6 separate regions of the Homo sapiens genome follow, and all the other regions are linked to region 4. Evidence: promoter capture Hi-C in 16 types of primary human blood cells and fetal thymus (Javierre and others, 2016). All regions are on one chromosome and are shown on one strand. Each heading gives the region's core, a stretch centred on a gene start or on the middle of the fragment in contact. The rest is flanking DNA. Distances are from core to core; before and after follow the strand shown.

Region 1 (4,492 bases), core at 324-2,823, 1.3 Mb before region 4:
ACCGTGTTAGCCAGGATGGTCTCGATCTCCTGACCTCATGATCTGCCTGCCTCGGCCTCCCAAAGTGCTGGGATTACAGGCGTGAGCCACCGCACTCGTCCCTGTTGTTGTTTTTTTTTGAGACACAGTCTTGCTCTGCCACTCAGGATAGGGTGCAGTGGCATGATCTCGGCTTACTGCAACCTTTGCCTCCCGGGTTCAAGCAATTCTCCTGCCTCAGCCTCCCGAGTAGCTGGGATTACAGGCGCCCATCACCAAGCCCGGCTATTTTTTTTTTTTTTTTTTGTATTTTTAGTAGAAACGGGGTTTCACCATGTTGGCCAGGCTGGTCTCGAACTCCTGACTTCAGGTGATCTGCCCATCTCGGGCTCCCAAAGTGCTGAGATTACAGGCATGAGCCACCATGCCCAGTCTCTTCTCTACTTTTCTTGCAGTAACAGAATTGTTCAATCTGAATATCCAAGGTGAGACTGTATTCATATATAATCTGGGTAAATGACTGGCAAAATGGCAGGGAAGGAGGAGCTAAGGATGACTCTCCTGGAACCCTTCCTCAACTCCCCACTGCTGCCGCCTCTCCCTTGGCCCTGGGGCACCAAATCCAACCTTTGTCCTGGGCCTCACCTTGGCATAGTAGACGTGGTTGGAGCAACGGTAGTGAGTGAACTGGCAGAAAGACTCAAACCAGGAGGCATAAGGGAGGTTGGAGCAGACAGCACCTGAGAAAGGGCAGGGGTGGAGAAGATGAACCCGTGGGGAGCTTGGGGTGGGGCTGTGGGCAATGGACTCCACGCCATGGGGAGGGTGGAGAGTACGAGCTCATGGTGTGGTGCCAGCCATGCCCTTCCCCGCCTCACATGAGCACAGGGGTTTTTGCCCTGAGGTTTGGGTGAACACTCTGGGTGCCTCGGTTTCCCCCCTAGTCTGGCCCTCACCATCGGGCACTAAGCCGTGGTTTTCATATTGGTCCAGCTGGACGAGTGTGGGATTCCGGCAGCCGTGGGTTGCACGGAGACGGCAGGTAGTCTCTGCCTTCCAGGTTGGAGTCAGCAGTGCGAAGAAGCGTTCGTATTCGGTAGGAGAGAGAGGGCTGCCTGGAGTGGAGGCCTGAGTCGAATCCTGGGCTGCGGCAGGTGCCAGAGGCAGGAGCAGCACTGCGGAGCGGGCGAACGGATGATGGAAGGACCGAACCCCAAAACCCGCTCCGAGACCAGGACAGACAGACCCAGACTGGCAAATTAGGAACGGGGTGAGGGTTATCCCTGCTGACCAGGGCGGGGGGAGTCTAGAGACAGAGGCAAAGGTCCGGCCGCGGGCGGGGGGAGATGGGAGTATCCCAGGACCTAGGGAGCCGACCCAGCGCGACCACCATGAGGAAGCGATCCAGAAACCGTAAAAGCAGAGCTCTCGGGAGGGAGAGGACTAGCCCGGGGAGAGTCTGTTGGAGCAGGTGTAAACCTCTCACCCTTCAGGAGTGAGGGAAGGAAGCCAGCGGCTGGCTTCCTCATGGCCGGAGAAGATCCGCCCGCGTCCCGTGGACACAAGCCGCCTCTAACGGGCCAAGCCGCAGAGAGAGCCGCAGGCGCGGGGCGGGGCGCACGCGGGCACCGCCCACGCGTCACAAAGAGCGGGCCGGGGCGGGGCCTCGACAGCCGGGCTCTCAGGGCCCTAAAGTGGCCAGAGCCCATCCAGATGGTAGGAATGGCAAACAGCTACCTTCACTTAGCGTCTTTTTCTTTTTTTTTTGAGACGGAGTCCTACTCTGTCGCCCAGGCTGGAGTGCAGTGGTGCGATCTCGGCTCACTACAACCTCGGCGTCCCAGGTTCAAGTGATTCTCCTGCCTCAGCCTCCCGAGTAGCTGGGACTATAGGTGCACGCCACCACGCCCAGCTAATTTTTGTATTTTTAGTAGAGATGGTATTTCACCATGCTGGCCAGATGGTCTCGATCTCTTGACCTTGTGATCCGCCCACCTCGGCCTCCCAAAGTGCTGGGATTACAGGCGTGAGCCACCATGCCCGGCCTAATTTTTGTATTTTTAGTAGAGACTGGGTTTCACCATGTTGGCCAGGCTGGTCTTGAACTCCTGACTTCAAATGATCTGCCCACCTCGGCCTCCCAAAGTGCTGGGATTACAGGTGTGAGCCACCGTAGCCAGCCACTTAGCATCTTTACATGCACTACCTTACGTAATTGCCATAGGAATCCCATAAGGTAGATACACTATCATTCGTTTTACAGATGAGAAATCGGGGCTTAGGGAAGCAACTCGCCCAACAAACAGGTCGTGAGGTCTAGAGCTAAGCGCAGGCAGAGATAGAATGTGCAAAACCAAGTCAAGGCCTATCTGGGTAGGAACTAGACAGGGCGCCTCCATGAGCAAAATGGGTCCAAGGGGAAAACAAGAGGGTGGCTCAGTGGTCTACGAAAGTGGTTTCCAAGGGAGAATCGAGTAAGACAGTCCACTGAGGTATGGGAGGAGAACTTTTGCTTTTGTATCTGTTTTGTGTTTAAAATGAGAAATTCCAGCCTGGGCAACAGGGCGAAACCTCGTCTCTACAAAAAGTACAAAAAATTAGCCAAGCGTGGTGGCACGTGCCTGTAGTCCCAGTTTCTTGGGGGGCTGAGATGGGAGGATCGCTTGAGCCCATGAGGCCAAGGCTGCAGTGAGGTGCAATCGGGCCACTGCTCTCCAGCCTGGGTGACAAAGTGAGACCCTGTCCCCACCCAAAAGCAAAAGTAAAAAAGAAAAATAAAACAAGAAATTGTCTTGGGCCAGACTTGGTGGCTCACGCCTGTAATCCCAGCATTTGGGAAGTCAAGGCGGGTGGATTCCTTGAGCCCAGGAGTTCCAGACCAGCCTGGGCAACATGGCGAAACCCTGTCTCTACAAAAAATACAAAAATTGTCAGGTGTGGTGGTGTGCGCCTGTTGTCCCACTTACTACTTGGGGAGGCTGAGGTAGGAGGATCACCTGAGTCTTCAGAGGTCAAGGCTGCAGTGAGCTGAGATCTCACCACTGTGCTCCAGCCTGGGTGACAAAGTGAGACCCTGTCTCAAAAATAAAATAAAATAAAATAAATTAATAAAATAGAGACCAGGCACTGTGGCTCATTCCTGGAATTCCAGCACTTTGGGAGGCCAAGGAGGGTGGATCTCTTGAGGCCAGGAGTTTGAGACCAGCCTGGCCAAAATGGTGAAACTTGGCCGGTGCGATGGCTCATGCCTGTAATCCTAGCACTTTGGGAGACCAAGGCAGGCAGATCACGAGGTCAGGAGATCAAGACCATCCTAGCTAACACGGTGAAACCCTGTCTCTACTAAAAATACAAAAAATTAGCCAGGCGTGGTGGCATGTGCCTGTAGTCCCAGCTACTCGGGAGGCTGAGGCAGGAGAATTGCTTGAACTCGGGAGATGGAGGTTGCAGTGAGCCGAAATCACGCCACTGCACTCCAGCCTGCATGACAGAGTGAGACTCCATCTCAAAAAAAAAAAAAGGGTGAAACCCAGTCTCTACTAAAAATACAAAAATTATGGCTGGTCTCAGCACAGTGCAATCTCTGCCTCCTGGGTTCAAGTGATTCTCCTGCCTCAACCTCCCAAGTAGCTAGGATTATAGGCACATGCCACCACATCTGGCTAATTTTTGTATTTTTAGTAGAGATGGGGTTTTAACATGTTGGCCAGACTGGCCTCGAACTCCGGACCTCAGGTGATCCACCCACCTCAACCTCCCAGAGTGCTGGGATTACAGGTGTGAGCCACCGCACCCAGCCTATTTATTTTTTTGAGACGGAGTCTCACTCTATCGCCCAGGCTGGAGTGCAGTGGTACAATCTCAGCTCACTGCAACCTCTGCCTCCCAGGTTCAAGCGATTCTCCTGCCTCACCCTCTCGAGTAGCTGGGATTACAGGCACCCATGACCACGCCCAGCTAATTTTTGTATTTTTGGCCGAGACCGGGTTTCGCCATGTTGGCCAGGCTAGTCTTGAACTCCTGACCTCAGGTGATCCACCTCCCTTGGCCTCCCAAAGTGTTGGGATTACAGGCGTGAGCTACCGGGCCTGGCCTACTTTAAAAAAAATTTTAAAAAATGAAAAAAAGAAATCAGCTTGGGTGCTGTGGCTCACGCCTGTAATCCCAGCACTTTGGGAGGCCAAGGCAGGCAGATCATGAGGTCAAGAGATGGAGACCATCCTGGCCAACACGGTGAAACCCTGTCTCTACTAAAAATACAAAATTAGCTGGGCGTGGTAGCATGTGCCTGTAGTCCCAGCTACTTGTAAGACTGAGGCAGGAGAATCACTTGAACCCGGAGGCGGAGACTGCAGTGAGCCAAGATCACGCCACTGCACTCCAGCCTGGCAACAGAGTGAGACTTCGCCTCAAAGGAAAAAAAAAAAGAAGTCAAGCTAATGTATAGTATAGCAGTACGTATGTATAGCACAAATACATCATTTATTGGAAATTAAGTGAAAGATGTTTTATG
Region 2 (4,637 bases), core at 817-3,316, 1.4 Mb before region 4:
CCTCTTTACTTTGCATTTACTTCTAAAATTGCACTTGTTCACCTACCAGTGTTTACGAAATCCTGTATTTGGGATGCTTTTTCTATAATAAAATATTATCATTTATGGGAAAAAAAAAAAAAGAAAGCCTGCTGATCTGTGATCTGGTAAACTCCAGCAGGGTGGAGATCCCTGAAGGTCGCCCCTAGACCCAGCGGTCATTTCCTAGAACATTCGGCCAATCCTCACCCAGTGCTGAATCTCCGCCACACTGGGCTGCATAGGTAGTTCCCAGGCCCGCCCACAAGGGGTCATAATAGCTGAGATGAGAGGGGAGGCCGCCAAACCAAAGCCTGTCAGTCACCCGCTCCCTCCTCAAGGCTTGGGTTGGAGTCTGCAAGACACTACCTCTGCTCTCACTCCTGTCCTATCGGCTTGGTTATCAGCCATCTAAGGAATCCACTTGGTATACAGCCAGCACTCCTGGCATCACATCCCTTTCCCTTGCCCCTTGGGGCCGGGCTCCTCTCAGACAGCCAAATCTTCATCCACAGAATGCACCGGGCCCGCCCCGCGGCCTCGCGGTCCTAGGGAGGGCCCATATCCCAGCTTCTCCCTGCTCAGTCCCCTGCTGGCTCTCCACTCTCCCTCCCCACTGGCGCTTTATACTGCCAAGATTCCCCTGTCAGCCCTGCTCTCCACCCTCACCCTAGTGAATTCCCTTCACTCTTTCTTTTCCCAGTTTGTTGACCTACTCAAGCAATGGCTTGAGGTCCCGGAGCTTTTCCTATGAAACCACAGCAGGTACCTGGTTTCCATCAATATTCTTTGGGAAACCTTGGGGTGTGAAAGAATCACTCGTTGCAAGGTACAGCCCCTCCCTCACCAGCCCCTTCCAGTTTCACTCAATTTAGTCTCCCAAATTTACGCTATATCCTTGCCTCCTACTTTTGAAGTTTATATCCCTAACCTGCCCCAGGGCTGAGACCGGTAGGGCAGAGCCCCAGTCCCTTTCACACCGCACAAAACCCGCAGTTAAGCCTGGATGGCAGAGACAAGCCGGAAAAGTAGGAATCCCCCCGTGTTCCGCTCCCAGCGTCCTTCTTCCTGTCACGAGCAGGGCTTCTGCATTCTCTGCGGATTCTAGTCTCCCTGCATCCAATTGCTTCCAAGCTCCTCATTACACAGCACAAACTTTACTCTCATTCTTTTCACCCCTGATTCTTCGGAACCCACACCAACTCGCGGCCCGTTGTGAGTGGTATGACACAGAGAGACCTGTCCCCCTTTCCCAATCCCTACCTCCGCTTGTACTCGTCCCGCTCCCGCTTCACTTTGGCCAGCACGTTGTAGAGAGCGCGGATCTCGGGCGTGATGGTGTCGATCTGGACGCCCACCCCATCCGGGTGCACCCACGACAAGCCAGGCCCTTGCACCAGAGTGGGCTCCAGTCCCGGCCCGAGCCGGCGGGCGTGCGAGAACGACCAGATGGTGCCGGGCATGAAGCGGGCCGACGAGGAATAGGTGGTGGAGGTGGAGGTGGAGGACGACGAGAGGCTGGCCGCGGAGGGCGCGAGGGGGCCGGCCGGGGAGCGCGCGGGCGAGCCCAGCACGCGCGCCGAAGGGCTGCAGACAGCGGCCGGCCGGGCGCCCAGCTGCAGCCCCAGGGGCCGGATGGGGCTGACGAAGCCGGTCTGCACTGCCTGGTCGCGACGACCCAGGCCCCGCCGGCCCTGCTTACCCTCCTCCAGCGCTTGCTGCAGTTGCTTCTCCAACAGCCGGTTCCGGCGCTCCAGCTCATGCACCTTGGCCAGGAAGCAGCGGAACCGGAGGTTCAGGGTCTTGAGCACGTTGATGTTGGAGCCCAGGTCATTGCGGAGGGCCATGGCGGCAGGCGGGGCCGGGCCCGGCCCGGGCGGCGAGTAGGCAGCAGGGCCGGCCGGCGAGAGAGGCGCCGGGGGCAAGTCTCCTCCCCCGGCGAAGTGGTCGCCTCCCAGTGAGTCCCCCAGTGGCCCGGCCAGGCCCTGCTGCTCCTGCTGCAGGAGGAAGAGGTTGGGGCCGAATAACGGATTCATGGCTGCGCCTTCTGCTGGGAGATGCAGACCGGTGCAGGAGCAGGGATGGAAGGCGAGCCAGAAGAGCCAATGCGGCGCCGGCGGGACAGAGCCGACCAATCAGGCGGCTCGGCAGCGGGGCAGAGGTCAGGGGGCGGGCCGAGGGGAAGCCAATGACAGGCTCCAATTGGAGGCCGGACCCTGGACCTTTCCGGGTCTGAGGCCGAGCCCTGTGATGAGGGGAGCCACCGCCTGGACTCCAGCCGGGGTGGCGTAAAGCCCAGGACCTCCAGTACCCCATGGGTTCTGGTGGCAAGCCCATCTCCCCTACACGACTTTTTTTTTTTTTGAGACCGAGTCTCACTGTCGCCCGGGCTGGAGTGCAGTGGCGCGATCTTGGCTCACTGCAACCTCAGCCTCCCAGGTTCAAGCGATTCTCCTGCTTCAGTCTCCCGAGTAGCTGGGATTACAGGCACCCGCCACCACACCCGGCTGATTTTTTGTATTTTTAGTAGAGACGAGGTTTCGCCATGTTAGCCAGGCTGGTCTCGAACACCTGACCTCAGGTGATCCACCCGCCTTGGCCTCCCAGAAAGTGCTGGGATTACAGGCATGAGCTAGTGTGCCCCGCCTTCCCCTACACTTCTATTGCCCTCCTCTCCCCGGAGTTCAATCACCCCTAGCTCTGACTCCAGGGCTTTCCCTTCCTGGGAAAACCCAAGGATGCAGGAGCCTAAAACTGACCTTATTTCTCAGTAGCACCCAACCATTCCCTCTCCTCAGAAGATCCCAGTCCCACCTCCCATCTTTACCCTTAAAGCGGCAAAGGCAGCACCCAGTTCCCTCAAAAATACTCAGTGGCCAGAGGTTTTAAAATGTGTATTAAATTTCATGGGTATGCACAGTAGAGAAGGCATCCTCACAGAGGCAAGAGTTCCAACCTGGTGACAATGGCAGTGAGCCACCCGTCTAGTTTTCAACCATCTAAGATAGCAGCAGCTGGCTGTTGCCCCTGGACTGAGATTTCTTCCTCTTTGCTGGTGGGGGGCGGCTGGAACGGATGGGAGACACAGTGGGAGGCTGAGGCCCCTTGGGGGTATCATTCTGTTTCTGGAAGGCAGCTTTCTCAAAAGGCTGCTCTGGCAACTGCTGCTTCTCAACCCCCTTGGCCCTTCCAAGGGGCTGATGATGGTCCTTAGGTTTCAGGGTGGCCTGAGTCTTGGATGGGGATAACACAGCCGGTGTTTGTGTGTCTGTGCCCTTGGGAGGGGCATTCTGCCTGAGGAAAGCAACTTTCTTGGAGGACTGTAATTTAGGTGATCGTTGCTTTAGCTTCCCAGTCACCTTTGGCTCCCTGATCCCTTCGGCTTTTCCAGCTGGCTGACTGCTATCCTGGAAGCTGGAGGAAGCTTGGGTCTTTGTGACAGAAGGTACAGTGGACAATTCTGAGTCTGCCCCTTTGGAGATGCCATTCAGCTTCTGGAAGGAGGCCTTCTTGGGATGTTGCTGTTTCTGCAGCTGCTGCTTTGTCTTTGCAGCCCCCTTGGCTTTCTTGGCTGGCTGGCTGCTGTTCTCAGACTTGGGGATGACCTGAGGCAAGTCTACATTTGTAGGTGTGGCTGTTTCAGAATTTCCTGGGGTTAAAATTAAACAGATGGTGTCAGAAAATGGGCCTTATCACCATATTTTAATATTCTCATATTAAAATATGAGAATTGCCATTTCCTGGGCAGGAGCTCCACACAATTAGGTCAGTGCCTAAGAGCAGATTACCTAAATTCCCATTACTTAATATAACTTGGCCTTTACTCAAGTCCTAGTTGAACCTTGTATTAAAAGATCACTGCCTATAGGCCAGGCGTGGTGGCTCACACCTGTAATTCCAGCACTTTGGGAGGCCAAGGCAAGTGGATTGCTTGAGGCCAGGAGTTCAAGACCAGCCTAGCCCACATGGTGAAACCATCTCTACTAAAAATACAAAAATTAGCCAGGGATGGTGGTACACACCTGTAATCCTAGCTACTTGGGAGTCTGAGGCACAAGAATCGCTTGAACCTGGAAGGTGGAGGTTGCAATGAGCTGAGATTGCACCACTGCAGTCCAGCCTGAGCGACAAAGCAAGACACCGTCTCAAAAAAAAAAAAAAAAAAAAAAAAATCACTGCCTATCCTTGGGCCAAAAGGTTTCTACAGGAAGCTGCGCCCTCTTGAGGACAGGAAGTAACAAGATGCTGTAAGGAAGAGGTGATTCTCAGGGTTTTGGGGTTTTTTTTTTCTTTTTTTGAGATGGAATCTCACTCTGTCACCCAGGCTGGAGTGCAGTGGTGTGATCTCGGCTCACTGCAACCTCTGCCTCCTGGGTTCAAGCAATTCTCCTGCCTCAGCCTCCGGACAATCACAACCGTGCGCCACCATGTCCGGCTAATTTTTGTATTTTTAGTAGAGATGAGGTTTCACCATGTTGACCAGCTGGTCTTGAACTCCTGACCTCAGGTGATCCACCTGCCTCAGCCACCCAAAGTGCTGGGGTTACAGGCGCGAGCCACCACGCCCGGCCTCGCAGGGTCTTCTAAATGAATTTGAAGCACTAGGCTTTATTTATCTT
Region 3 (4,925 bases), core at 1,811-4,310, 1.6 Mb before region 4:
CCTCCACCTGGAACCATATTCAACACTCTTCCTCCATCCTCTCCCCCACTCCCTCTAATTCTCCCATTCACATTTCTTAGTGTTTCTCAACATGGTTTTTCCACTCCCGAACCAAGGTGTCTGGCTTCCTGCCACCCTGCCCATCAACACAAAATCCCATCTCTCCATTCCTCTCCTCTTCCTCACATCAGTATCCAACTCTGCTTCCCTCCTTTATAGCTACCCTGACAGGCAGTGACTTCAGATGTCAGCTCCACATCCACTTTTCTATGAGGCTTTCCCTCCGCCATCCCATCTGACACATCTCTTGTTCCTTAATTCCTTCAGCAAATAGTTAAGGGGCACAGTTAATGTGACAGGTCCCGTATGGGTGCTAGGGATGCTGAGGTGGATAATACACAGCTCGTGCTCTCAAGAGCTCTCACTTGAGTCAAAGACAGTCAGTTGTAGGCACTGAGATCTATACAGGGAGTGCTGCAGTTGCACAGTGAAGGACACTGAAGCAGCGTGGGGAAGCTCCTGAATTTTCTGGAGCTGAGCGCAGGAGCTGAGACCTGCTAAGCAAGGAAAGGCAGTGGACTAAGGCTCACCTCCTTCCCCAGTTCCTCCTCCTCCCAACTGGTGCTCCAGGACACCACATCACAATGCATTTGTGGATATTTTCCTCGGGATTGCTCTGAAATCATTTTTCACTGTAAGCCATCTTGGTTACTAGGCTGTAAGCTCTTTGAGAGCAGCAAAATCCTGTTTGCTTTGCCACAGTCTCTCCTGTATCATTCTTCCCTACTCCCCTACCCCACTTCTCTCTCTCTCTCTCTCTCTCTCTCACACACACACACACACACACACACACACACACACTGTGAGCTCTGCATTGCCCACTGAATGGTGAGAAATTCAGAAGGATGTTGCATTCCCTTTGTTTTCCCTTTCCTCCAGCTCCAGGCCAGGCTTCTGTCCCTTAGGAGACATAATCCCACCTGGGCTGAAGCACCCCAGGACGCAGGCACTTCCCTTTACCTGTTCAGGCTACCTTTACCCTCTGTTTTCCCAACACAGGTAGCCACCCAGTAATTACTACTAGTCACAGCAATATAAAAACTTTATTGAGTGCTTTCTATTTGCTACAACCTATTCCCCTGATGGACTGTCAAAGCTGTGGGCAGGGATTTTGTTCTCTGCTGTAATCCCAGCACCTATCACAGTGTCTAGCCCAGAGCGCACACTTAATAAATCAAATGAACACTTAACATGTATCAGTCTATTCAATCTTCAAAACAACAGTATGAGGTCAAGACTGTGACACCCATTTTGGAGATAAAGAAACGAAGGCATGGAAGGTTAGGTTATATAAGCTGCTCTTGTTCATGCAGGAGGTATGTGAGGGAGCCAGGGGCCGCCCCCAAACAGAAAACAGAAGCAGGATGTCAGGGCAGCTGGCTGGTGGGGAGACCGTGGGGGAAGGACAGTGGGAAGAAGGGAAGAGCGGGTGGGACTAAGGAGGCAGGAGGAGGCAGAAGAAGAAGAGTGAGACCCTGACCAGAGACGTGCTGCCTGGGGACCTGGGGCCGGGACCAGAGCGGAGCAGAGAGGAGGGGAAGGAGGATTAGCGAGAAAAGATTTCAAAAAAAGAGGCTCTGAGAAGTCTGAGGAGAGTCTGGGGAGATTGCTGGAAGAAAGGAATGGTAGGAGAGGAAGAGTATAAGGCACTAAAGAGAGGGGAGGTAGGCGCAGCCTTCAGAGGCCGGGCAGGGCAGGGAAAATCTGCCTGACTAGATGGGCCCAGGACATCTGAACAGGATGATTCCCGGACCAAGACGTGGAGGACGATCAAGGATACATTGAAACAAGGCTGAGGCCAGAGAAAGGGACATTTTCCAGTGACGAAAACAACTTTCTACCAACTTCCCCAAACTGAACTGTAGAATAAGAAACCAAGGGATTGTTGTTTAGGTCTGTGAGAAGCAGCGGGGAGGGGAAGCTGGAGGACAGGCCCAGGGACACTGACCAGGTGGGGGTAGGACTAGCTCCCTGGGAAGGCTCAGTCCCACAGCGGCTACCTGCCTAGCAGCAGGCAAAAGGGTAAAGAATGTCCCCAGGTGAGAGGCCGGGGCTTGGCCAGGGCACTGGGGACACTGTCCACTGGGTTGCCCTGCCCCATCCAGTGTCCCAGCCCATTCTCAAATACCTCCCACCATGAGCATCCCAAACCCACCACACCAGCCCATCCCCACTCCTCAACTCACTCCCCCACTTCACCAGCCGCCAAAATCCTGCCCTACAGGGTGTGCTCCACCAAGTTCCACAGGCAGCCTCGCCTCCCCACGGCCCAACACCCTCCAGGCCAGCCAGCTGACCGGAGGGACAGAATTCAGAACCGTCTGGACTCCCCGAGCACTAATCTTCCTACTCCCACTCCCTTCTTTTCCCCGCCAAATCTGCCCCACCCTGGGCCTATCTCCTGCCCACATTCCCTTGGCCGCCCACAAACTTCCACCGCTGTCAGGGGCCAGGGCTTCCTTTTACTCTCTCCCTTTCAAACTTCTCCCATTCCCCTGCCTCAGCGCAGCCCCTACTCCAAAAGGCGGATGAATGGGGAACCCCACACTGGCAGTGGCTGAGGTTAGGACCTGCAGGCCTGAGGCTGGCGCCAGGACCAGGCCCGGGCAGGAGAGGCTCGGCCCCCTCCCGGAGAGGGCCCACGCCAGCCGGAAGGTGCCTCGCCCACCAGCCCACTCTTCCCTTTGTCCCTGGTCTCACCAGTGGCAGCAGCAGGTCAGGCACGGTGGAGAGGCCCATGCCAGACAGCTATGGCCTCTCACTCCCCCATTTGGGCTCAGGGCAGTGTGGCAGCGGCAGTGCTGGGGCTTCCCGGGACTCGGTCTGTCCAGGACGTCCCAAGTGCCTTGGGGTGACAGTTGAGGGTTGAGACTCGGGCATAGAGATCACGGCCTGGTCCCAGTGATCTTGAACCCCAAAGGCCAGAACTGGAGCCTCAGTCCAGAGAATTCTGAGAAAATTAAAGCAGAGAGGAGGGGAGAGAAGGTGGGAGGGGAAGAGTGAGGCAGTGTTGCAACAGCGGGACAGGAAGAGCTGGAGGAGGAGGCCACAGGAGGCGGGAGGAGGAGGCCCAACGTTCTTTAACTCTTTGTAGTCCAGTCACAAGCACAGGAGTCCCAGATCTGGCTGCCTTGTGCCCCCAACCCACCAATCCGACCACTCCCAACCAAACACCAAGGGGCAATAAGCCCCTTGCCCACATCACTAGCCTTTCCCAGATGGATCACAGCAGTGAAAAGATCCAGAGTCTGGGAGTCAAATTCTCTGGGTTCCAATTCAGAATGCTTAGCTTTTTAGCTAAGAATGTGTCTTGGACACATAAATGAACTTCTCAGACACATAACTGAAACTGTCTGGATCTGTTTTCCAATTTGCAGAGTGGAGATAACCTGTCTCCTGGGGTTCCTGTAAGGATTTGTTCAGATGGGAGAGATATAGATAAGCGTCCGACACATGATAGGTACTCCATGTCCCTTAGTAATCCTCCCCTTTACTCCAGAGTTCTTCACTAGCCTCCTAGTCTCCCTCTTTCTTGGGAATTTACTGATCCAATCCAAAACTCAAAGTAAGTCCCAACCCTCGTTTTCTGCCCTGACTGGGTGCCTGCCATTCCTCACCCCAGGTCTCATCCAGTCTCTGCCTGGCCAGGTCCCCCCACCCTGCCCCACTGTTGATCCTGGCTCTGCCACCAATCATGCGACATCAGGCAACTCCTCTCCTAAGCCTCTGTTGGTTCCTTGTTTATTAAACAGGGGTAACAATGTCTGCCCACCTACATGGGGAAAGTGATGCCATGAGAATCAATGAGACGTATCCACGAAGCTGCCGTGGAAATAAAGATACCTCCATCAGGTGTTCCTAGCATATTCCCAGTGCCCTTTTCCTAAATATTCCAATACATCAATTATAACTCACCTTACAGATCATCGACTACAACCCCCTAGGTTTTTTTATTTCTTCGTTTGCTTGTTTTTCATTTTTGTTTTTGTTTTGAGGGTCCGCTCCGTTTCCCAGGCTGGAGTGCAGTGGTACCATCGCAGCTCACTGCAGCCTCGACCTCCCAGGTTCAAGTAATCCTCCCACCTCAGCCTCCCAAGCAGCTGGGACTATAGGTGCATACCACCACGCCTGGGTAATTTTTGTATTTTTTGTAGAGACAGGGTCTCACCATGTTACACAGGCAGGTCTTGAACTCCTGGGCCCAAATGATCTGCCCACCTCAGCCTCCTAAAGTGCTAGGATTACAGGTGTGAGCCACCGTGCCCACCCAACTGCCCGGTTTTATAGAGGAGAAAACTGAGGTCCAGAAACCCAATGTGCCAGGAGGCAGAGCCAACAGAGAACCCCAGACTCCCGACTGCCGGTCCAAGGGCCCCTTTGGCTATGAGAGACACACTGCCACTTTTTCTGTCACTGAGTCAGACCCCACATCCTGACTCTGGTTACTTTATGCCATCCTCATTGATGCAGACATCTCCCAAGAGAATCCTACAACAAAGGTACCACATTTACCCAACTATCTTCTTGGTACAATGACCTTCCCTACATCCAGCCCCGCCCAAGGGCCTGCAGCTGCTGAGGCTGCTAGAAATGCAGGCAGACAGAGAAGAGGGAGGTCCTAGGGCTTTGGAACTTGAAACCAGAGCTCCTCACCCCTTATCCCTCTGAGATGACCTCCCAGCCCCAAGTCCACCGTCCCCTGGCTCTTCCTGGCTTCCCCTCTGTGATCCGCAGATGAGAATGGAGCTTCAGTGTCCCTCACTGCGGGGGGAGCTGACTTTACTCCACCCCATCGTCCAGCTTCTGGAGAACTGTAGGGTTGAAGCTGGATTCAGAAAGGAAGCAGCTCACCACCATCACAAAGG
Region 4 (4,969 bases), core at 682-3,181:
GGTAGGATTACTAAGAATTGACCATTCTGGAAACAAATACAGTGCAGTCTGATCTGTACCCCAGACTCCACGGAAGCCCACTGGTGGTGGTGGAGGGGGTGGTAGTTTGTGTCTTCACTGCTGGGTGGCTCTTTGAGTCTCTTATCTCTCAGGACCATGTAACCTACTGGATCTACTCACTGCATCCTGGCCCCATTTCAGTCTTCGTTTATTAAATACAGTTCTGCTATCCCTAACTCCCGCGCAGGGGAAGAAAGTACTTACTCTGAACCCAACATATAAGGGCGAACCCAACATATAAGAGACATTTCTTAGTGGGGAGAACCGGTCATCTTCACCTTGCCTGGAATAATTCAGCCGGGCGAGACATTTTCCATTTCTACCTTGGGGCAGCTCAATTTTTATACCTGAGGCCAACTTCTACGCCATTCCCCCCCACCCCACCACCCAAAATCCCTTCAACCTTTCATATCTTAAACTCCTTTCCTTTCAGGTCGGGCAGATTAGGCAGCAGGCTGGGAGCTTCAGCAGGAGAAGTGACCTTGCCTGCAGCCTCCCAGATGTCTCAGTCCCAGCTAAGCATCGGTACCCCGGAGGGCCCTGCCAGTGCAATGCTCTGTTAAATCTTTTTCCGTTTAGTAAAAATCTCTTCTGTCTCCTCTCATCATTCACTATCTTTGAGAGCCTTTTCTTCTTTAGTCTCATAATTTTCCATCCCTTTCTTATTTTCCTACATTTTCTTTCTTTCTGCTTTGTAGAGATGGGATCTCACTATATTGCCCAAGGCTAGTCTCAAACTCCAGGCCTCATGTGATCCTCCTGCCTTGGTTTCCCAAATGCTGGGGTTATAGGTGTGACCCACCACACCTGGCCCCTTATTTTTAGTTAAATTTATCTTGGTAAAAAATGCCTTTCTTGCTGCGCGCAGTGGCTCATGCCTGTAATCTCAGCACCTTGGGAGGCCGAGGCCGGCGGATCGCCTGAGGTCGGGAGTCGAGACCAGCCTGACCAACATAGAGAAACCCCGTCTCTACTAAAAATACAAAATTAGCCGGGCCCGGTGGTTCATGCCTGTAATCTCAGCTACTCAGGAGGCTGAGGCAGGAGAATCGCTTGAACCCGGGAGGCGGAGGCTGTGGTGAGCTGCGGTCGCTCCATTGCACTCCAGCCTGGGCAACAAGAGTAAAACTCAATCAGAAAAAAAAGAAAAGCCTTTCTCCCTGCAAATAATGCATATACAACACTCAATATTTTAGTATGTCCTGCACTCACGATTTTAACCCTAATAGGAAGGACAACTGGAATTCTTTCTCCTTAGCATCCACGAACCCCATATGTTATAGGACAAACAGATGGCCAGACCCTGGCCTGTGCCTCCAAACACAGACCTTTTCAAGGTCTAATGCTTCCAGAGAAGTCTTCACACTGGCTCTGAGACCCACACTTGTAATCCATACAACCAAGCAGCCCGATCCTCTAAACACTCAACCATCTCGTCCTCAGTGGCATATGGTTACCTAAAATAAACCTGAGAAGCAAACACAACTTCTCCGGGTGACTTTCCTATGATAAGGTGAACAGAACTGTATGACATTCAAAGAGAACTGATGAAGCGGCAGCAGTGCAGGCTAGAGACGAAATGAAAAGGCCTTAAGATAGCTTGGTGACTTAGGAGAAAATAGAACAAGGAGATTACCATTAATATTTGCCTTTCTGAGTGTATCCCAAACAAGCAAAAATAACCAGTAATTATATCATTCTTACCTTCTGTGTCCCCATCGCTGTAATCTAATTCAAGTCTTCAAGAAAGATCTAGGGGTGATTCCAGAAACAGCTTTTTCAGCCAACAAAACCTTCAAAATGTCCTTCTCAGCAGCAAGTTTTCTCCACGTCCTCAGGAAGGATCCAAAGTCTTACCATTACAGCATCTCTGGGTCTCGCTGGGATCATGACTATTTATAATCTCCGCAAAGGGTGGAGCCTGAAAGGGCGACAAGCCCCCAGCCCCACCCCACCCCACCCCACCCCCCTGAAGCAATCTTGTGATCTCTCGGAATTCTGTGTTATCAGAACTACCCCCGCCCCCGCCCCACAGACAATAACGCCCTCCCTCCCCCCTCTCTTAAAACCACATCCTTCCACTCTCTCCACCCTGGGTTTTTTTTTTTTTTTTTTTTTCAAAAGCTCATCCTTACTCCTTCCCTCTTCTAATAGCAGCTAGAGCCTCTTAGTTTCACAGACAAAATACTACCAGAAAAGCCTGGAGGGAGGGCAAATACACTATTTTATGCTCTCGCATCTGCTTGGGATTAAAACAATCTACAGAGAGATTAGAATAAATCTATCCATACAAAACGAAGTCAAGTGGGTGCTACTATCAGAGATTTAAGGTTGTTAGAAAGAGTGTTAGTAAGAATTCTTGATCCTATGAATTTATAGGCTGGGTCTACAATCTTTTTTTTTTCTTTTTTTTTTGAGACGGAGTACACAATCTTAAAGGGGAGGGAAAGACAGCCTGAGAGAAGAAAATCAGGGAAATAATTTTGCCAGTGTTCCTTTCTTCGCATAATCTCACCTGGAGGGAAGAAAATCTGAATTTCTAGGAGCCAGACCAACTATCAGGGCAGTAGGAATAAGAGGTTCAACTGTTTATGGAATACAATCCATATCCTTTTTTTTTTTTTTTTTTTTTTTTTGATATGGAGTCTCTCTCTGTCGCCCAGGCTGGAGTGCAGTGGTGCGATCTCGGCTCACTGCAACCTCCGCCTCCCGGGTTCAAGCAATTCTCCTGCCTCAGCCTCCCGAGTAGCTGGGACTATAGGCGCCCGCCACCACGCCCCGCTAATTTTTGTATTTTTAGTAAAGACGGGGTTTCACCATATTGGCCAGGCTGGTCTCAAACTCCTGACCTTGTGATCTGCCCGCCTTGGCCTCCCAAAGTGCTGGGATTACAAGTGTGAGCCACCGCGCCGAGCCCTATATTTAATAAGGCATTTGCCATATCACCCATTCTGAATTCTGCATCACTTTCTGCTAGTCTCAAGCTTATAGCATCTAGAAATGCAATAAATACCGAATTCAATTAAGCAGGTATTTGCCGAATACACGCTATGTATCAGGTACTCTCCAAGAAGCTGGTGATTCTTCAGTGAATAATAGAAAAAAAGGCCGGGCGCGGTGGCTCACGCCTGTAATCCCAGCACTTTGGGAGGCCGAGGTGGGCGGATCACGAGGTCAGGAGATCAAGACCATCCTGGCTAACACGGTGAAACCATTCTCTACTAAAAATACAAAAAAAAAAAAAAAAAAAAAAAAAATTAGCCGGGCATGGTGGCGGGCGCCTGCAGTCCCAGCTACTCGGGAGGCTGAGACAGGAGAATGGCGTGAACGCGGCAGGCGGAGCTTGCAGTGAGCCAAGACAGCGCCACTGCACTCCAGCCTGGGCGACAGAGCAAGAATCCGTCTCAAAAAAAAAAAAAAAAAAGAATAATAGGACAAAAGAGTTCTGACCCACAAGTCATTTATAGTGTTTCCCTTCTTCCCTTTTTATAAAGTATAAAAAGGGACTAGGGCAAGTAATTCTCACATAACTGGAAAAGATTATTAATATCCTATTAGTTATGGACTGTGAGTTTCTTGAAAGAAAAGTGTTACATAAGTATCTGATTACTAAGCTATACAAGAAAACTGAACAAGCTAAGCAGGAGAAGAAAATAGGAATGAGAACTGAGGGAGGGATAATCGGGGAGAGAGAAGAGTGGTTCCAGGTTGAGAGTAAACAAAGCAAAACAACTTGGTTTGTGTTTAAACAGCTGGGTAAGTGAGAGATAGTATCTAGGCTTTTTTGGAGGAGGAATATCAACTATCAAATTCCTAATGCCCATTCATTTGTAGCTTGCAACCCTTTCAGTACTGGAGGTGGCAGGGTGGGTGAAGGACGCTTGGTAAAGAGATAAACTTTTTCCCAGTGGTGAATTGGAGAAAGTGTATCTTCCTTTAGGGTTTTGGTTGAGGGCCTAGAATTCAAATTGATACTGCTGGACCCGAGAAAACTAGATTACTGTTGCTTCCTTTGCTTTAACGAGGATATTGTTAAAATCTGATTTGATGACAACTCCCCTCCCCCATCTCACCATTGCCTTCCAGGAAATGCTGAGCCAGAGGCCCCTTTAGTCACCACAGCAACTGAATTTAGTATCTAAAGGAAAAAGGATATCCCAAAGGGCAGTGCTGTCCAATAGAAATATAATATGAGCATGTCACATTATGGTTTCTAGTAGCCACACTAAAAATTTTAAAAGAAACAAGATAAATTTTTTTCATAATTATTTTATTTAACCCAATATATCCAAAACATTGTCATTTCAGCATGCATTCAATATAAAAATTAATAGTTTACTTTTTTGTACTAAGTCTTTGAAACATATTGTATATTTTAAATTTACAAATTAAAGGGATATGTAGCCCCACCAAAACAACAAAGTTGTGTTTATCAGGAAAATATTTTAAGTTGCATATCGAGCGTTGCATGCAGGCAAATTGCATACAGCCAAGCCTGGCCGCCTAGCCCAGTCGTACACCAGGGTGGTCTTGATCTCTTGATCTCTCTTTTTTTTTTTTTTTTTTAGACAGAGTCTTGCTCTGTTGCCCAGGCTGGAGTGCAGTGGCGCGATCTCGGCTTACTGCAAGCTCCACCTCCCGGGTTCACGCCATTCTCTTGCCTTAGCCTCCCGAGTAGCTGCGACTACAGGCGCTTGCCACCGTGCCCGGCTAATTTTTTGTATTTTTAGTAGAGACGGGGTTTCACCGTGGTCTCCATCTCCTGACCTCGTGATCATCCCGCCTTGGCATCCCAAAGTGCTGGGATTACAGGCGTGAGCCACCGCGCCCGGCGATCTCTTGATCTCGTGATCCCCCCACCTCAGCCTTCCAAAGTTCTGGGATTGGCTGGGCGCAGTGGCTCATGCCT
Region 5 (4,976 bases), core at 2,059-4,558, 1.1 Mb before region 4:
GGGCCAGTGGGGAAGAAGGGGGTGGGAATGAGGGGCCATCCTTCTTGAGCAAGACCAAAGACAACAGGTGTGGTCTGGCCGAGGTTGGGCACCACTCTTTTGTGGCTGCGATGAAGGAGCTGAAGCCTGCGTTCACTGCTGGGTTTTTTGCCCCAGAACTTGTTAAAAATGTAATGCTTCTGTTTGGCCGGGCGCGGTGGCTCACGCCTGTAATCCCAGCACTTTGGGAGGGTGAGGTGGGCGGATCACGCGGTCAGCAGATCAAGACCATCCTGGCTAACACGGTGAAACCCCGTCTCTACGAAAAATACAAAAAATTAACCAAGCGTGGTGGTGGGCGTCTGTAGTCCCAGCTACTTGGGAGGCTGAGGCAGGAGAAAGGCGTGAACCCGGGAGGCGGAGCTTGCAGTGAGCCGAGATCGCGCCACTGCACTCCAGCCTGGGCGACAGAGCAAGACTCCGTCTCAAGAAAAAAAGTAATGCTTCCTTCCTCTCCAAGAACAATAGTTTAGAACGGGCTGTGGACTGGATCTTCAGTCACATTGACGACCTGGATGCTGAAGCTGCCATGGACATCTCAGAGGGCCGCTCAGCTGCCGACTCCATCTCTGAGTCTGTGCCAGTGGGACCTAAAGTCCGGGATGGTCCTGGAAGTGAGTATCCCCAGGAAGCAGGACAGGCCTGGTGGAATCTGGTCAGTCTACTACACCAGATCCCTCATTCAGGCAGCTCTGCCCTCCTCAGGAGTCAGGGGCTTCTTTCCACCTCAACGTGGCATCTGAGGGTGGGGTTCTCTGACATGGAGACAGGCTCTGGCCCAGTACCTGCCTCACATTCCCTGAAACTCCTGTCCTGAGTCTGAGCTGTTGTCTGGATCTTTGGGCCATCACTCAAGCATTCCTCTTCTGTTTCCTTCTCTGACCCCCTCTCTCCTTTCCTAGAGTATCAGCTCTTTGCCTTCATTAGTCACATGGGCACCTCTACCATGTGTGGTCACTACGTCTGCCACATCAAGAAAGAAGGCAGGTGAGTGCTGGCCACATGCGTTTTGAATGGAGAATGGTGGTGGGAATGAGGAGGGCCATTTGGAAGTCCTTGGGATAGCTATGGGAGAAGGTGAAGGGACTGCCTGATGGGGACATAAAGTGCCAGAGAGTGACAGAAGGTCTTGCAGCAGTGATTGGCCCAAGGGTTGGATCTGGCCACCAGCTTTTTTTTTAAATAGAGATGGGATCTCACTATGTTGCCCAGGCTGGTCTTGAACTCCTGAGCTCAAGTGATCCTTCTGCCTCGGCCTCCCAAAGTGCTAGGATTACAGGCATGAGCTACCGTGCCTGGCCAGGCCCCCTGCCTTTGTAAATAAATTTTCACTGGAACCTGGACACACTTGTTTATGTGTTGTTTGTGCCTGTTTTCACGCTGCGGCAGGAAAGTTGAGTCGTTGTGTCAGAGACCAGAGAGAGAGCCTGCAGAACCTCAAATACTATCTGGCCCTTGCCAGAAAAAGTTTACCAACCCCCTGCCTCCCTGGAATGGGTGGAGGGTGGTTGTAAAGGTACTGGAGGATCTGAAGACATAATAGGGTCCGTGACCCTTGTGAGGTTGTGAAGCTCCCTTAAGGCACATGGTGGCTGGGCTGTGGATTTGGGGTATGGGCAGAGAGTGTGGAGAGCACTTCCAGGGGCCATGTCTGAGAGACTACATGATGCCACTTTGAATGCCCAGTTTGTTCATCCTTTTCTGTTTTCCCCACTTCCCCAGATGGGTGATCTACAATGACCAGAAAGTGTGTGCCTCCGAGAAGCCGCCCAAGGACCTGGGCTACATCTACTTCTACCAGAGAGTGGCCAGCTAAGAGCCTGCCTCACCCCTTACCAATGAGGGCAGGGGAAGACCACCTGGCATGAGGGAGAGGGGCTGAGGGATGGACTTCAGCCCCTCTGCTCTGTACCCTTTTTCCTTTTGTCCCCGGCAGCAGGGAAGAAGCTGGAGGCCGTGGGAGAATGGCTGGGCAGAGCAGAGGGGCAGCGATAGACTCTGGGGATGGAGCAGGACGGGGACGGGAGGGGCCGGCCACCTGTCTGTAAGGAGACTTTGTTGCTTCCCCTGCCCCCGGAATCCACAGTGCTCTGCTTCTCTGTGTCGCCCCGCCCAGCCCCCTGGTGTGGAGGGAGGGGTCTCGTTTGTGCGCGTGGGTGTAGCTTTGTGCATCCTCTCCCAGTGGAGCGATCACCTGTGCCTCCCCTCCCCCTTTGTTTGCCCCTGTGTGGTTGGTCAAGGAGGGATGTGAGGGAAATAGGGACCCCCCGACTTGCCCTCCTGCCTCAGTCTTTCCCCCACCCTGTCTCTTCCTTGTCCTTCTCTGGAAAATGCCAAAATACACGATGTGAATAAAAGTACAACGGCTAAATTGTGTCCTGTTTGATACCTTGGGGGAGAGGCTTACCTTCCTGGGGTTAGCAGGAGGGCGCTTAAGAAAACTCCTAACTCTGGCCGCCTCCCTGCCAAAGTCAAGTCTCCACTTTTCACTGGTTCTAGAGCTCTAGGAAAATTGGGGTTGGGTGGGGAGGTGGAGTAGAGTGACTAAATGCCGACACAAAGCCAAGGAAAGATGGAGTGAAGAACCCTTCCCTCTCTTTATTCACACAGGAGTGGAGGATTTCCCAAATGTCCCTAACTGGCTAGCTGGCTTCAGGCTGGGACTCAGTCCCTGCAGTTCCTGCCAGGCCTTGCCAGCCGGGGCGAGGGTTGGGATGATCCTGGCGGCCTATGCCTGTGTGGGCTGCCCCTCCCGCTGTGAACCCTGCATTTGTCCCGCAAGTTTTCACTCAGGTAGACTCCCTGGGTACAAGGGTGCCTGCTCAGCAGTCGGGCATGAGCTGCTCCGATGGGCGAAGGAGGTTGTCTATCCCACAGTTGGAGAGGGGCCCTCTCTGCCCCAGTGGGCGATCTGGGCTACGGCCAAGTTGCCACCAGCTAGTTCCGCTTGAAAACCACTTCTGGCCCCGTGGGGGACTCAAGTCGCCAAGCGAGGGTTCCCCTGAGCGCCGGAGCTCACAGGTCTCGCCTTGTCCCGAAAGCCCCGCAATCGAGGCGGAGGCGACCGAGCCCCCGACTCTCCTAGAACGTTGCCACAAGAAGGGGGAACGTCGGAACAGTGCATCATCGGGCGGCGGCCGGGGCGGCGGCAGGAGGGCGGGCGGGGGGCAGGGCTCCGGGGGACTGGGCGGGCCATGGCGGAGGACGGCGAGGAGGCGGAGTTCCACTTCGCGGCGCTCTATATAAGTGGGCAGTGGCCGCGACTGCGCGCAGACACTGACCTTCAGCGCCTCGGCTCCAGCGCCATGGCGCCCTCCAGGAAGTTCTTCGTTGGGGGAAACTGGAAGATGAACGGGCGGAAGCAGAGTCTGGGGGAGCTCATCGGCACTCTGAACGCGGCCAAGGTGCCGGCCGACACCGGTAAGCCCTCGCCGAGGAGGGGTCTGGCCGGGCCGGGGCCGGGGCCGGGGCAGGAGTGGCAGCGCCCTCTCCCGAGGCCCCGAGGCCCCGAGGCCGGTATCCGCGCGGACCTGATGCAGGGCTGTGGGACGAGGGCCGCTGGGGTCCGGGCAGGGGCCTCGCAGCCGCAGCCCCGTCGGTGCGTCGAGGGGGCAGGGCGGAGCACATGATGCCCCTTGGACTATGGGGCAGGTAAGGACGTTTTGGGTCTCCTGGAGGAAGGTGGCCCCGGGGCGCGCACTGGGGCTGTGCCCGCCAGGCGACGGGGTTAGGAGCGGAGCCCGAGGCTCTGCGGGAGACCGGGGGAGGCTGGGCCGCGTGGGCTTCCCGCTCCCTGCGCCCTGGCCTCCCGCGCCGTGCGCCGCCGCACGTAGCCCCAGACTCCTCCCCTTCCTCGCCGGCGTCCGCGTCCCCGCGCCGAGCTGCTCGGGCTCCCTGAGCCCCAGATCTGACCCCTTCCCTTCGGCAACCTGAACGACTCCCGCCTTCCACGGAAGGGACCGAGCCCGTGCCAAACAGGCTGAGCGATTTGGGAGTGAGGAGCCATCCTACCGCTTTCCCCAACCTGGAAACAGCAAAGCGCAAGGCCTCTGAGTCAGTTAGGTCTCTGCCACCCACGGGCAAAGGATGCTCTCCTCCATCCTCCTTCCTCCCTCCACCGAAATCGGAGAGCCGCGGGCCTGATCCAAAGAGGCATCCCCTTCTCGTTCATTCCCCAGAGGCCTCAATACAAACCCCAGGAGTTGGCCCCTCTCCTTTTGCTACAAATCCTTGCCTTGCAAAGGGGAGGTGAGGATGGGCTATTTTAGAAGGGAAGCAGGGTTGCTCCCTGGAGAATGCTGAGTCTGTGAGGTGCCTATGCCGAGAATAGCTCGAGGAAATTGGAGCCCCAGCTGTTAAAAGAGCAGAGGGCAGGGTGAGGGCCGTGGCCTCTCAGGGGTATCTGGAAGGCTCTTCGAGTTGAGTGCAGACCCAGCCTGGGCTGGAAAATGGACAAAGGTCATCTTGCTGGGGTGAAAAGGGGGAGAGCAGAACCAAGAAGAAGAGGGTGAGGGCTGGGGGGCTCCAGGGCACTGGTTAGGAATTGTGGGGAATGAAGGCTTTCTTTAGTCTCATCCCCCTGTGGTACCATCTTGTCCTCAGAGGTGGTTTGTGCTCCCCCTACTGCCTATATCGACTTCGCCCGGCAGAAGCTAGATCCCAAGATTGCTGTGGCTGCGCAGAACTGCTACAAAGTGACTAATGGGGCTTTTACTGGGGAGATCAGGTGAGATCGAGGTGGAGAGGGGTGTGTGGGACCCTTCCCTCACTTTCCTCGTTGAGGGGAAAGCCACAGGGTGGGCTCCCTGCTGAACCTTGGCTTCATCTCTTCCTTTAGCCCTGGCATGATCAAAGACTGCGGAGCCACGTGGGTGGTCCTGGGGCACTCAGAGAGAAGGCATGTCTTTGGGGAGTCAGATGAGGTTAGTAGCCAAGAG
Region 6 (4,993 bases), core at 1,160-3,659, 1.7 Mb after region 4:
GGAGGACTCTTCCTGGCTTATTTGAGGAAGAGCAAGGAGGCTGCTGTAGGTGAAGCAAAGTGAAGATGGAGAAGAAGAGTGATACCATGGGGAATCAGGAACGGAGGAACCTTGAGGGTCAGTTAAAGACTTTGGCTTTGACCTTCAGTGCAATAGGGAGACTAGATGAGGGAAGTTGTACGAGAGGAATGTCTTGATGTGACTTTCATTGTAGAATAATCATTTAATTGCTATATTGAGACTAGGTAGGGGAGGGTGGTCAGACTCTGGATATTTTGAAAGCTGAGCCAACAGTATTTTATGTCAAATTGGATAAAACGTCTCAGAGGAATGTCAAAGGTAAGCCTGTCTTCTTTTGAGCCTTGGCAAGAATGCATTTGCCGTCCATTGATATGAGAAAGGCTATGGGTATAGGAATTCCGCTTACGGAACTATTTCCTGACAAGTTCCTCTCAGAATTGTCATTTTTTATTAAAAATAAAGTAAGATCTCTACTTGAAATGTTTTCAGGCAAATCACCTGGCCTTAAGAGCTGGTATCTTCTACTTAAGCAGATTGAGAATGCACGAAAGTACAGAGAACTGTATACATAAAAAAATCATCTCTTGTATAGAGGTAATAGGTCCTCAGCATTGCTTTGTCAAGAGAAAGAAGGGCTAATATGAGGGAGGATATGGAAAAATCATCCGTATGACCCTGTGAAAGTACAGTACTATGGAAGTCGATGCTATAGAAATTGATTTCCTTGAAACTGTTAGTGTCAGTGTAAATTTCAGAAAGTCAAGGGTGCAGATACCCAGCTGGAAACCACCGGACTGACGATTGTTGTGCTTAGGATAAGGCACTTTGTGATGAGTTAGGAAAACAACAATCAGATATGTACACTTCAAAATTGACCTCAGGAAGGTAAGCAGAAAAATAGATAAAATGGGTGAGAAAATTTCTTTATTATGTTTCATTGTGATTGTCTCACTTTTAGCAAGAAAGGAAAAGCCAGTGGTAGAGTCATCTAAATACGCTGCTTGCCCAAAAAGCTGAATTAGATTTAGGAGTAAATGTTTTTATTTTTCTGAAGGCATAAGAAATTAGACATTGAGTCAAACGTTCTGTGTCTCATTAGAAGCCAGCCTTGCTCAGTTTGCAACTATGGAGGAACTGGTAAGAGATATTTTTGGATCATGTTTTCTGTTAAATACTTAGCCCCCTGAGGCAGGTCGGCTACATAGGGTTAAAGCTGAAATACTAAGAAGGATCCCATTCCAGGGGCATGAGATGTGTTTTCATGTCTAACATTTGTTGAGGGTGTGTTCTCTGCCTGGAACCCTGTGAGACATTTTAGATATATTTCCCCATGTAATGCTCATGGTGAGCTGGTAAGATGAGATGTATTGTTCTCATTCTATTAAGAAGTAAGGTAATTATATAATTTGTCATCTAGATTAAGACATATAGGGCATTAAAAGTGATCATTAATACATTGGTGGAATGACAAGCATAAACTGAGAATTTCCCAATGAAACTGGGATTTATGCTCACTTTAAATAAAGTAATTTAGGATCAGAGACGTTAAATGACTTAAACTGAGAACTGGGAATTAGTCTCACTCCAGAATTTATGCTGCTTAATTATACCACGCTGCCAGTGAAAAAGAGAAGGGATAGGGAAGAGAGACTCCAGAGTAATATGAAAGAAAGGGGCTCATGGTGTTAGTTTCTGTTTTATTATAGAATTTCCTGAAAAGATACAAAGGCCCTTCTGACCATTGGATTGGCCTTAGAAGAGAATCATCCCATCGCATTTGGAAATGGACAGACAACATGGAATATAATAACATGTATGTTTTGAGACTTCTCATCTTTTGCTGTGTTTATGTATGGTTATGTGTGTGAGTTGTGTTTATGAGATAAGAAATGTAGTATCATGGAAAACTTACTGCAATATGAGGTAAGAAATCTAAACCCTTTTTATGCTCTTCAGTTGGTTAGCTGTGTCTTTGGGAAAGCTTTACCTGTGATTTCAGTTGAAGTCTTTAATGTGACAGTGACATTTCTCACAATTTTACACTTTCATCCACTGATTTAAAACTGCTGAAATCCCTACTTATAGCTGATGTGCAACAAAGGTTCTACAATCATAGGAAGCCACTGAGGAGCTGATATCCACAAGGCTGTTAAGCCCACTCTTGCAGGTGTTGCATCCATTTACAATAGGAAAGCATCCAGGGAACTCATGGGAATCTCTCCCTCCTAAAGCTTTATCACCAGAAGGAAACTAGTAACAGTTCCTTGGACTGTGAACATTTCAAAGGGGTATTTTGAATATAATCATTACATTGCAGCAGATAAAATGTAGGAACCCAGTCATATCCATTAATCAAAGCTAAGCCCTTTCAGGAATTTACTAGTTTTTTTTTTTTTTTTAGTTTTCACACATTTACAAAACAATTTGGGAGGAGGCTGGAAATCATCTTGACTGAAGACCACCAATGGCAGCAGTTCATTTGGGTACAGCAGCAAGCATCAGTTAAATACCTATCAACATAGCTGGGCTTGGTATGGATGAATGATAAGCTTGTGATTTTCAAGCAAGGACCTTGAGGACATAAAGGACACTAAATACAGAAATGGTTTATATTACTATGAAGCAATATTAATGACAGACTTTTGCTTTTCTCTTATTCACATTGAAATATGGAGGGGTTGCAGAAGATGATGGGGAGGAACAAATGCAGGTGTCTAACTTACAAATATTTAATATTTTTGTGTTTGGATTTAGGCTTGCTATCAGAGGAAGTGGAGAATGTGCCTTCCTGAATGACAATGGAGTCAACAGTGGCAGAATCTACATGAACAGAAAATGGATTTGTAGCAAGCCAAACAATTATGTCTACAGTTGCCAGTTATGTCCCCACTGGGATACTACCTAGTAGAGCTGTGAGAAGAGGGCCACCATCCTCCAGACTCCAGAATGGTGGAATCAGCAGCAGCTTCCACCATGCCCCTGGAAAAACTGCAAGTAACAGACCTGCACATGTATCCCCTACATCTAAAATAAAAGTTGGAAAAAATGGAACTTTGATGTTAAGATGCACTGATACAAAACTTAAATTTTGGTCTCCTACATTAAAACAATATGAGTCTCTTAAAATATTGATTTGTTCTTAGTAAGATTACAAGAGGCTTTGATTTTTAATTCTGCAATGTTTCCTTAACAGCCATTCTGAATTACAAACTAATTCCTATTTCTGCCACATTCCTTCCTGAGAACTGTCTAGTCCTGGTTTGGGATTTATCTTAAAGGTCTAGAAAGGCAACATTTTACTTCAGCAAAACTTGATTCTATATTGTTGTTTTTTCTTAATGTGTCAAAATTGTTTTGTTACTAGGATTTCCTATGTTGTTATTAAATGTATTCCCCTGATCAAGGTCACTGGCCTAGAAAACAAAGATTCTGTGTTTTACCAAGATAATTCCCAGTGCTTCATGGTGTCTTTATTAGGCTTTGACTGCTTAGGGAAACTGAGCCTTAAAAGGGTAAAAGTTTTTCCATCCATGTAACTTTCTGAGGTCTTTAGGTTGTCACTCTGATTAAATGAGTAGTATTCTTAGCAGTGACTTATTATCTGTTGAAGGAAGTATTTTAAGCTTTTTGACATCTTTGGCAGGTTTCTCTAGAATCCAAATCCTAAATTAAGCCTTTTGGCCTAAAAATGACTGGGATTTTTCCAGGTGGACCCCCTAGATATGCTCCTCCAAAGGCTTGTCTTTCTTGTAGAGTTATTAAATGATTAGGCTTATTTGGCAAATACTGCTAGAAGCATTGTCAAATAAGAAATGGTGTTTTACCTTTCTTTAAGCTGTGTTTGTGTAAGTTCATCATTTATAGAAATGTGAAATTTTATGAGATTCCTAAGATACTGACATGCTGAGATACCTGTAATAATTGCAATTTTTATGTTGGATGATTGTATGCCACAGAAGCACTTAAATTTCCTGGTTAATTGGTAACGTTAATCAGATCTTTACCTATGGCTGTTCTGGGTTTTTGTCATTCACAGTTATTATTTTAATTTCTTCTTTGGAAGCGTTCGCAATCAGCTATAGTCCAAAATTGCTAATTAAGATCAAGCAAAACAAAATTAATTACGTAAAATTAATTTATAAGGATGTTTTTATGACGTAAATGTTTTATTTTCCAGAGCCAAGGAAATTTTCTGTCACAAGCTATCTACCGTTTGCAATAATTTGATAAATAATCCTTTGTGAACAAATATGGAAGCATTTGCTTTTTCTCTCTACTTGATTCCTTCAAAATTCAGAAACTATTTGTGGATATTTTTAGTTTTATTTATACAACTTCAGTAAAAATCCACTCTCTCTTTATAAGCAGGATCCAGTTGGAAACATTATTTATATTGCTAAGGTTTGGCTTGAAATGTCATATTTCAGAATGTGCATAGAGGCCAGGGGTGGTGGATCACACCTGTAATCCCAGCATGTTGGCAGGCTGAGGTGGGTGGATCACTTGAGGCCAGGAGTTTGAGATCAGCCTGGTCAAAATGGTGAAACCTCATCTCTTCTAAAAACACAAAATTAGCCAGGCATCGTGGCACACGCCTGTAGTCCCAGCTACTCGAGAGGCTGAGGCATGAGAATTGCTTGAACCCAGGAGGTGGAGGTTGCAGTGAGTGGAAATCCCACCACTGCACTCCAGCCTGGGCGACAGCATGACACTGTGTCTCAGAAAAAAAAAAAAAGTGCGTAAAATGCCTTGCTTCATGAGTTCCCAGCTTTACAGGGAATGAGTAAAAATTGTCACTTTCTGGCAGGTTCAAGAACCTTATTATAAGCAAAATCCAAAGGCTGCTTTGGTTTGGTTTCCTAGCCTCAAGAGGTTCTAAAATCTAAGATCTCCTACATCATCAACGGGAGAGAAAAATTATGCTTCTAAGGAAAGCAAAGTTACACCTGTTTTTAGATTTTAACCCTGTACA

The links. Contacts are between HindIII fragments. The CHiCAGO score rates a contact against its expected background, and 5 or more counts as called.
Region 1: a contact is called between the fragment with the promoter of ACRBP here and the fragment with the promoter of SLC2A3 in region 4, in 4 of 17 cell types (neutrophils, naive CD8 T cells, monocytes and 1 more). The highest score is 8.0, in neutrophils.
Region 2: the fragment with the promoter of IFFO1 here is called in contact with the fragment with the promoter of SLC2A3 in region 4 in 1 of 17 cell types (naive CD4 T cells); the score reaches 6.2 in naive CD4 T cells.
Region 3: a contact is called between the fragment with the promoter of TNFRSF1A here and the fragment with the promoter of SLC2A3 in region 4, in 1 of 17 cell types (non-activated CD4 T cells). The highest score is 6.4, in non-activated CD4 T cells.
Region 5: the fragment with the promoter of TPI1 here is called in contact with the fragment with the promoter of SLC2A3 in region 4 in 2 of 17 cell types (non-activated CD4 T cells and total CD4 T cells); the score reaches 8.3 in non-activated CD4 T cells.
Region 6: a contact is called between a fragment that was not itself captured here and the fragment with the promoter of SLC2A3 in region 4, in 1 of 17 cell types (activated CD4 T cells). The highest score is 6.2, in activated CD4 T cells.

The regions. Positions count from the first base shown.
Region 1 is chr12:6,645,859-6,650,350 of GRCh38, forward strand. ACRBP (acrosin binding protein) reads right to left here and starts at 1,574. Exons shown (of 10, transcript NM_032489.3): 1 at 1,466-1,574; 2 at 936-1,154; 3 at 625-719. The coding sequence starts at 1,508. ING4 (inhibitor of growth family member 4) reads right to left here. Exons shown (of 8, transcript NM_016162.4): 8 at 4,443-4,492. RefSeq lists enhancers at 995-1,508, 1,432-1,501. The HindIII fragment of the contact is 16,958 bases long and covers 1-4,492 here.
Region 2 is chr12:6,553,976-6,558,612 of GRCh38, forward strand. It overlaps IFFO1 (intermediate filament family orphan 1), which reads right to left and starts at 2,067. Exons shown (of 10, transcript NM_001193457.2): 1 at 1,282-2,067. The coding sequence starts at 2,054. NOP2 (NOP2 nucleolar protein) reads right to left here. Exons shown (of 16, transcript NM_001258308.2): 16 at 2,896-3,667. The coding sequence ends at 3,018. RefSeq lists enhancers at 43-543, 544-1,044 and silencers at 1,505-1,684, 1,795-2,034, 2,085-2,244. The HindIII fragment of the contact is 7,963 bases long and covers 1-3,440 here.
Region 3 is chr12:6,339,016-6,343,940 of GRCh38, forward strand. It overlaps TNFRSF1A (TNF receptor superfamily member 1A), which reads right to left and starts at 3,061. Exons shown (of 10, transcript NM_001065.4): 1 at 2,761-3,061. The coding sequence starts at 2,799. RefSeq lists an enhancer at 2,864-2,963. The HindIII fragment of the contact is 11,725 bases long and covers 1-4,925 here.
Region 4 is chr12:7,934,256-7,939,224 of GRCh38, forward strand. SLC2A3 (solute carrier family 2 member 3) reads right to left here and starts at 1,932. Exons shown (of 10, transcript NM_006931.3): 1 at 1,765-1,932. The coding sequence starts at 1,779. RefSeq lists an enhancer at 40-993, a silencer at 2,061-2,110 and a cis regulatory region at 3,959-4,306. The HindIII fragment of the contact is 4,746 bases long and covers 1-3,042 here.
Region 5 is chr12:6,864,223-6,869,198 of GRCh38, forward strand. It overlaps TPI1 (triosephosphate isomerase 1), which reads left to right and starts at 3,309. Exons shown (of 7, transcript NM_000365.6): 1 at 3,309-3,459; 2 at 4,642-4,765; 3 at 4,877-4,961. The coding sequence starts at 3,345. It overlaps USP5 (ubiquitin specific peptidase 5), which reads left to right. Exons shown (of 20, transcript NM_001098536.2): 18 at 500-653; 19 at 942-1,026; 20 at 1,762-2,410. The coding sequence ends at 1,855. RefSeq lists enhancers at 1,562-2,224, 2,225-2,886 and silencers at 3,156-3,205, 3,476-3,915. The HindIII fragment of the contact is 21,039 bases long and covers 1-4,976 here.
Region 6 is chr12:9,654,146-9,659,138 of GRCh38, forward strand. It overlaps the pseudogene LOC374443. Among named protein-coding and RNA genes, the nearest start is that of CLEC2D, 13 kb to the right of the region's middle. The HindIII fragment of the contact is 318 bases long and covers 2,251-2,568 here.